Linked DNA regions of Homo sapiens: region 1 is linked to region 2. Evidence: promoter capture Hi-C in 16 types of primary human blood cells and fetal thymus (Javierre and others, 2016). All regions are on one chromosome and are shown on one strand. The core of a region is centred on a gene start or on the middle of the fragment in contact, and the rest is flanking DNA. Distances in the headings are between cores, read along the strand shown. Region 1 overlaps MX2 (MX dynamin like GTPase 2). Region 2 holds the start of MX2 (MX dynamin like GTPase 2).

Region 1 (4,217 bases), core at 364-2,863, 46 kb after region 2:
GAATGAGCCATCGCACCCGGCCTTTTTGAGACGGAGTTTCGCTCTTGTCGTCCAGACTGGAGTGCAATGGCATGATAGCTCACTGCAACCTCTGCCTCCCAGGTTCAAGCCATTCTCCTGCCTCAGCCTCCCAAGTAGCTGGGATTGCAGGCGTGTGCCACCACGCCCAGCTAATTTTGTATTTTTAGTAGAGATGAGGTTTCACGATGTTGGCCAGGTTGGTCTCGAGCTCCTGACCTCAAGTGATCCACCCTCCTTGGCCTCCCAAAGTGCTGGGATTATAGGCATGAGCCACCATGCCCAGCCAACCTCTTTCTTCCTTGACTGCATGGGTGATGTAGGAGTCCTGGGATTCCTGGGAAACAGGTATATCACACTATTATCCCAGTGTTCGTCAGCACTGGAACCATTCTAGCAGAAGTAGCACCCCAGGAATGACTGACACCGTCCCAACAGCATGGACTAAGCCTGTTCCTGTTGAAGGAGCAGAAAGCTGGTGGTGTAGGAGGGACTGGGGATGGCCAGAGAGGAAGAAAGGGCAGGAGAGAAGGTATGTCGCAAGTGGGGAGTGAGGAAACCGGGTTCATAAGGACAGAAAGGGCGAAGTGGGACTTTCTAAAAATCATCATTTCAAGTCTCAGGACTTCTTTGACTATGGATTCGTTTTATTTCTGAGTTCAACATAATAGTACTTCCAAATTTGTTTAAGCCAACAGGAAAGAAGAAAAAGAAGTAATGTGTTTGTCTTTTTTATCTAACCAGAGCACGATTGAAGACATAAAAGTGAAACACACAGCAAAGGCAGAAAACATGATCCAACTTCAGTTCAGAATGGAGCAGATGGTTTTTTGTCAAGATCAGATTTACAGTGTTGTTCTGAAGAAAGTCCGAGAAGAGATTTTTAACCCTCTGGGGACGCCTTCACAGAATATGAAGTTGAACTCTCATTTTCCCAGTAATGAGTCTTCGGTTTCCTCCTTTACTGAAATAGGCATCCACCTGAATGCCTACTTCTTGGTGAGTTCCCGGCGGGGCAGGAGCCGTGCTCTCTGAAATTTGCAGAGCTGAGTAGGGGCTATGCTAACCTAGAGAGGCTTTGCTGAGGGAAGGAGGGAGGGACCACTACAATGTATTAAGCCCTTCTGTATTATGATAAACTACTTATATATTTTCTCATTTATAATTTTACATGAACCCTATGAAGGCACTTTTAATTAATTTGCCCACAATCAATTTTTAAAGTGGTAGAGCGTGTACTCAAAATTAATTCTGACCCCAAAATTCCTTATATTTCTTATGCGGTCCATGAATTACAAAATTACTATGATCAGAATACAGCAAAATACAACAAACGTCAACGATTGTGACTATAAACTAGCTTTCCTTGGTGTTCAGAAGGCACTAACATGCCACACTTGCCAGCCCCACAAGATAGGAATGAAATTTCCTTTCCCTAGATTTTGTGACCCAGTGAACTTTTTGGCCTCTGACTGTCTATCCAATATGCAAGTATCACTGTTCCCAGGAAGAAAAAATAGCTTTTAAACTGCAAAGACACCCACCTCCCGAAGCCCTTTCTCAATCAGAATAGAGTGGTTTCCCAGCCATGGGCACCTGGCTGCCAGGCATACTGGCTATGCCTATGAAGAAGGAATGAGGGGAGGATTCGAAACGGCCCTGGTGCATACCCAGAAGGGAGCCAGGGGAGTCCTGGGCTGGGGGAGTTTCTCCAGCAGGGAGGAGCTGTGGGGATGCCCAGAGGTGATATGGGCTTGCTAGCCTACCAGGGGGCTTCTTAGTGCTAGAGGGGATGCCTGGAAGTAAAGAGGGGTCAGCGCAAATAGAACCTTCACGGGGCTTGATGCTGACCACCGGAGTGGAGGTGGGCGAGACCACCAGGGCTTCGCCAGGCAACCATGTGCGCATCCAGGAACTCCATGCCTTCTCTCTGCAACCACAGGCCTTGGGCTGAGACCACTCCAGCAAACCCTTCTTTCTCCCTCTTCCAGGAAACCAGCAAACGTCTCGCCAACCAGATCCCATTTATAATTCAGTATTTTATGCTCCGAGAGAATGGTGACTCCTTGCAGAAAGCCATGATGCAGATACTACAGGAAAAAAATCGCTATTCCTGGCTGCTTCAAGAGCAGAGTGAGACCGCTACCAAGAGAAGAATCCTTAAGGAGAGAATTTACCGGCTCACTCAGGCGCGACACGCACTCTGTCAATTCTCCAGCAAAGAGATCCACTGAAGGGCGGCGATGCCTGTGGTTGTTTTCTTGTGCGTACTCATTCATTCTAAGGGGAGTCGGTGCAGGATGCCGCTTCTGCTTTGGGGCCAAACTCTTCTGTCACTATCAGTGTCCATCTCTACTGTACTCCCTCAGCATCAGAGCATGCATCAGGGGTCCACACAGGCTCAGCTCTCTCCACCACCCAGCTCTTCCCTGACCTTCACGAAGGGATGGCTCTCCAGTCCTTGGGTCCCGTAGCACACAGTTACAGTGTCCTAAGATACTGCTATCATTCTTCGCTAATTTGTATTTGTATTCCCTTCCCCCTACAAGATTATGAGACCCCAGAGGGGGAAGGTCTGGGTCAAATTCTTCTTTTGTATGTCCAGTCTCCTGCACAGCACCTGCAGCATTGTAACTGCTTAATAAATGACATCTCACTGAACGAATGAGTGCTGTGTAAGTGATGGAGATACCTGAGGCTATTGCTCAAGCCCAGGCCTTGGACATTTAGTGACTGTTAGCCGGTCCCTTTCAGATCCAGTGGCCATGCCCCCTGCTTCCCATGGTTCACTGTCATTGTGTTTCCCAGCCTCTCCACTCCCCCGCCAGAAAGGAGCCTGAGTGATTCTCTTTTCTTCTTGTTTCCCTGATTATGATGAGCTTCCATTGTTCTGTTAAGTCTTGAAGAGGAATTTAATAAAGCAAAGAAACTTTTTAAAAACGTAGCCAGGTTCAGTGACTCATACCTGTAATCCCAGTGACTCTGGAGACTGAAGCAGAAGGATCACTTGAGCCCAGGAGTTCAAGACCAGACTGGGCAACACAGGGAGACCCTGTCTCTAAAAAAATTTGTTTGTAAGTAGCCAGACATGGTGGTGCACACCTGTAGTCCCAGCCACTCAGGTGGCTGGAGCAGGAGGATCCCTTGAGCCCAGGATTTTGAGGCTGCAGTGAGCCATGACTGCACCATGTACTACAGCCTGGGTGACAGAGTGAGAGTGAGACTCTGTCTCTGAATACACACACACACACACACACACATACACAGAGAGAGAGAGAGAGAACTTCACACCAGTGATCATCATTATGGGTAATTTTCTTTTCTTCTTCATGTTTTCCTGTATGTTTCAAATGATGAACATATAGATTCCTTAATAAAAAGGCAATAGAATAAATATCATTGCTGATTTGTTTTAAAACCCAAGTTTGAGATGGAAAGAGTGCCTCAAAAACATTCAGCTTTGTTCAGGGGTACAGACGAGAAAGATTACGTGAATTTCTTTCTTCATTTGCTGTAAAAGATGTTGGAAAAGAAAGTTCAAGTCAAAAATCACAGCTTGACCAGCATCCCCAAGAGCTCTCTTGCAGAGGTCTCTTTGATTTGTGTTCAAATGCTAGTGTATTAGTCTGCTATAGCTGCCATAACAAATATCACATGCTGGGTGGCTTAAGCTACAGAAATTTATTTCCTCCCACCTCCAGAGGCTGGAAGTGTCTGAGATCAAAGTGTTGCTAGTTTGGTTTCTCCTGAGGTTTCTCTCCTTGGCTTGCAGACTGCCACCTTCTCACCAGGCCTATGCTTGGCCTCTCTCTTTTCTCTTACAAGGATCCCAGTCCTCTTGAATCAGGTCCCCACCCTTAGGGCTTCATTTAAGCTTGATCACCTCTTTAAAGACCCTACCTCCAAATGCAGTCACATTGGGAGTTAAGGCATCAGCATATGAATTTGAGGGTGGGGGCATAATTTGTTCCATTACAGCAAGTAAGAAAATAGACATGTGCATTCTGAACACAAAACTCGAGCAATGACCAAAAACTTGGAAAAAGGTATCTCTAATTCAAAAGGCAGCAGATCTGGCCTGAAGCAAACCAGATGATCATGGAAAGGCTGACATTGATCGATTGCTTGCAATCCTCCAAACGTGGAATTTGGGAATATGTTCCAGTTATCTATTGTTGTGTAACAATCACCCCAAAACT
Region 2 (4,303 bases), core at 1,503-4,002:
TCTGGCCAGGCATCGCCCGGGGATCCGGCTTTGGGCTGTGAAGTTCTTGTGATGACGGCCCCTCCTACCCAGTGATGGCCCCTTGGCCCTCTGCTGCCCCTGCAGCTCACTGCTGCGTCCGCACCCGGGGCACAGGACTGTGAATTGCCATTCATTTCCACTTCCTGTTGATGTTTCCCTACAATGTGGTCTTTAGTGTGGAGATTGTCATTCCATCTCTGAAGGCACTGGGCACTGCCAGCCCCCAGCCCAGTCCCCCACCGGTGGGCACCACGCAAGGGGGCTTGCCACATCAGAGTCACATTTCCTACGCATTGTGGACCCTGCTGGTTACCCCTCACACCCGCCCCGTGACAGGGTCATGATGATTTAACCTAGTGGGGCTGGTGAGGCACAGAGAGGCTAAGGACCAAACAGCCAGTCTGGGTGCAGTGGCTCACAACCAAATTCCCAGCACTTTGGGAAGCCAAGGTGGGCAGATCACTTGAGGTCAGGAGTTCATGACCATCCTGGCCAACATGGTAAAACCCCATCCCTACTAAAAATACAAAACAAATTAGCTGGGCATGGTGGCACATGCCTATAATCCCAGCTACTTGGGAGGCTAAGGTGGGAGGATTGCTTGAACCTGGGAGGCCGAGGTTGCAGTAAGCAGAAATCTCACCACTGTACTCCAGCCTGGGCAACAGAGCGAGACTCCATCTCAAGCAAACAAAAAAGAAACAAAGAGCCAGGTCACACGGACAATGACAGGGTGGAGTTCCACTCCAAGGTGCACCCGCTGCTCCTGTGCTCTGCTGGGAGGGACACACCCCAGGTAAGAACCCTGCTTGTCTACAGCACTTCACCATTGCCTTTGTCCTGTTAATTCAGGAAAGCATTTGCTTGATCTTTCCTTCTGTGATTGGAGAGGCCATGGGAGAGTGGATGCATGCTGGCTCTGGATGGCTCCAGGTGCTGCAGGTGCTTCCAGGTGGCCAGGAACTTCATCAGCACACAGAGGCGCTGGCGCTTTCCATAGAGTCAGCGTGCCAGGGCAGGAGGCGGGCACTGGGGCTTCTGGACTTCGCCTCTTTACCAAGCTGCACACTGTAACGCTCCCTGATGTGGAGCTGAGGGAAGAGCTCCGCCCAGCGGCTGTGACCGAGGCCTGAGCAGCAGCATCTTTTCTGGCCCCGGCCCCTGTGCTTGGATGCTGCGTGGGACATTCATTCACCCTCAGGGCTTTAGTGCTCAGAACGCAAGAACCCTGTCCTTGAAGTTTGCATGCGCAGGCACCTCTGGTCCTTCCCAGGGCTGCTGGTGAGGGGCGTGCAGGAGGGGGATGCTGCCTTGACAGAGGGTGGAGGGTCCCCTGAGCTGGCCCGAGCTGCTCGTGTCCCTCTGTCCGGCTTCTCTGAGGCCTTTCTTTGTGCCTTCCTTGAAGCAGTAGGCCGGCCCAGGCCCTGTTGTGAAAGACATTCCTAGTGAAACCGAATGTCACATCACGCTGCCAAGTCTGAGATTCACATTCCTCCCCTCACTCCTCAGCCTCTGTCCGCCCGGGCTCTTGGGAAGAGAAGTGGTTCAGGGATAGGTGATCCTGACGATGATCTCCTGGTGTTAATATTTCTAATGCCAAGGTTTTGAAAAACATGTTAAGTTTCTAAATATCTTCCGTAAAGTTAAGCCTGCACTCAAGGGAAGTCACTACAATGACTTAGCCAAGAGGAGCTCAGGAGTTTTTTTAAACGTATAGTGTTGATGTCTGGGAGAGGATCACGGGTGGATAGGAGAGCTGAGAGCCTGCTTCCTCCCTCCCAGCCATCACTGCCAGTCCTTGAGAGGCTTGGTCCCCTCCCCGGTGTCTGGAGGGCTCCTCCTGGAGGTTCCCAGACCTCTTGGCTCTGGTGATGGGAATGCCTGGCCCTCCTTGACTTTGGTCACAGAGCAGGAAGCCTTAGGGAGCATGCGGTTGTGCACCTTCACTTTTGCAGGTGAAAAGTAACTGAGGACCAGAAAGATGACATGCAGCTGGCTCAGGGCTGAGTTCCGGAGCCTGGGGTTTGTCCTGGGGCCTCCTTATCTCCAATGGGAAGAAAACCGTCTTGGTTTTGCGGCGGGGACCTCAGGCACGGGTGCTTGGAGAAAGCTGTTGACCCTCCTTCTTTGGGTTTTCCGCACCTAATGAGGGGAGAGGTGACATTTGTCAGGTGCGGCTCAGGCATGAAGCTAAGCAGGACAGCTCAGAGCGTCCAGATCATGTACCTGAGAGCATGTCCTCGGCTGTAACAGGAGTGCATCTGTGAGGCCCGATACACGAACCACACGTGGCTATTCATTCAAATTACATGGAGTTCGAAGTCCAGTTCCTTGGTCGCAGTAGTCACATTTCAGAGCCACACAGGTGGTACTGGATGGCACTGTCAGGGCAGAACCTTCCAGTGACTGAGCCACTCTGAGCTGCCCCCATGCCAGCCTCCCCTGGAATCTGTTAGCAATGCTGATTCTCAGGCCCAGCCCAGACCTGACAGATCAGACTCTCTGGCGGGGGTGGGGGGACAGCCGCCCCGTCTCCACAGCTCTCCCAGGATTCGGATGCAGCTGGAGTTTGGGGACCACTCTGTGAGTCATCTGGAGAGCACGCTGATAACTCAGTTTCATTTCTGTGGCCAGATCAAGTAGTTTCATTTCTCTCCCTGTTTGTTGATGACGGAGCAGGGGAGGGAGTGGTTCATATGCCACATAAAAGTGAAGTGGAGGAAAGGGAAGAGATGATTTCTCCATCCTGAACGTGCAGCGGTAAGAGCGGGGCCGGTGCAGGGAGGGCTGCTTTGTGTCTGATGCACAGCAGATGCGTGTTTAAAAAATATTTCCTGAGTAACGTGACATCTGCTTGGTGAATGTGGCTTGTGCTGGGAGGCAGGAGCCACAAAGATAAGATTCTGGTGTGAGGAGCAGAAAGGGCCCATGTTGCCACCAGCCCACAGTAGCCTTGTGCACAGACAAAGAGGCTCTGGAGGGGAAGTGGCTGGCCCTGGGGACAGGGTGGCCTCCATCCTGATCTGGCCAAAAGTCGGGTGGACGCAAAGGGGTGGTTTTTAGGACAGCTTTGCTCAGCGTCCTACAAAGTCTGGGGGTTGAGTAAGGAGCTTTGTGCCCGAAAAGTCGTCTCGGAGGGTTTCAAGTGTTCCTTCTTTTGTGGTATTTGTGATGCTCTGACGTAACCTTAGTGACGGTGATATGCTGGGAAATTGGCTCTCATGGGGCGGGGCAGGGCAGAGGGTGGTGCCTGATTTCTAGCCTTTGCCGATTCTCTTCCGTTCTCATGGTGTGAATGCTCCCACCGTGGCCAGTTCCCAGCCAGTAGGGGCCAACTCCAGCACTCTGGACCACTGCACCCTGGATCGCCTGCACTCTGGGGGCTGAAGTCCATTTTATAATTGATATAGAGCGGAAAGGAGACATGGTGGTATTGATGACGCAGTTTTTTTTTCTTTTTTTTTTTTTTTTTTTTTTTTTTGAGAGAAGTTCTCGTTCTGTTCCCCAGGCTGGAGTGCAGTGGCGTGATCATGGCTCACTGCAGTCTCAAGCTCCCGGGCTCAAGGGATCCTCCCACCTCAGCCTCCCAAGTAGCTGGGACTACAGGTGTGCACCACCACACCTGGTTAATTTTATTTCTTTTTGTAGAGACAGGGGCTCTCTATGTTGCCCAGGCTGGTCTCAAACTCACTGGCTCAAGAAGTCCTTACGCCTCAACCTCCCAAAGCACTGGGATTACAGGCGTAAGCCACCCCATTCGGCTTTGATGACACCTTTTGAACACTGTTCTTTCTCATTTTGTGTTTAGAATGTTGTCTCTAGCTGTTTAAAAAGATCAGGATTCCAAGCTATCTTTCCTCGCACCCTCTCCTCCGTTTACTCTGCTCTACTTCCCAGCCCCGCGCCAACCCCTGAAGCACTTTTGACTCCCTTCGGATGTACAATTTTTTTTTCTTTTTCTTTTTTGAGACAGGGTCTTCCTGCTCTGTTTCCCAGGCTGGAGTGCAATGGTACCATCATAGCTCACTGCAGCCTTAAACTTCCGGGCTCAAGTGATCCTCCTGCCTCGGCCTCCCAATGCATTGGGATTACAGGTGTGAGTCCCTGCGTCTGGCCAGGATGTATGTGAGCTTTATTTAGGTTTAGCCCCTGCCCTAGAATGCAAGCTCCCCCAGAGATCTTTGTCTGCCTGACTCGATATGTATCTCAAGGACTTAGTGCTCAATATATATCTTTGAGTGGGTGAAAAACAAGCGGTCTTAAAAAGAAAGGAGGTGAGCCC

What was found. Contacts are between HindIII fragments. The CHiCAGO score rates a contact against its expected background, and 5 or more counts as called.
Region 1: a fragment that was not itself captured here is called in contact with the fragment with the promoter of MX2 in region 2 in 4 of 17 cell types (neutrophils, naive CD8 T cells, activated CD4 T cells and 1 more); the score reaches 7.0 in neutrophils.

Annotation. Positions count from the first base shown.
Region 1 is chr21:41,405,982-41,410,198 of GRCh38, forward strand. MX2 (MX dynamin like GTPase 2) reads left to right here. Exons shown (of 14, transcript NM_002463.2): 13 at 763-1,017; 14 at 2,010-3,412. The coding sequence ends at 2,252. Among named protein-coding and RNA genes, the nearest start is that of MX1, 18 kb to the right of the region's middle. The HindIII fragment of the contact is 4,554 bases long and covers 1-3,890 here.
Region 2 is chr21:41,359,275-41,363,577 of GRCh38, forward strand. It overlaps MX2 (MX dynamin like GTPase 2), which reads left to right and starts at 2,753. Exons shown (of 14, transcript NM_002463.2): 1 at 2,753-2,781. RefSeq lists enhancers at 92-895, 2,178-2,437, 2,458-3,297. The HindIII fragment of the contact is 29,601 bases long and covers 1-4,303 here.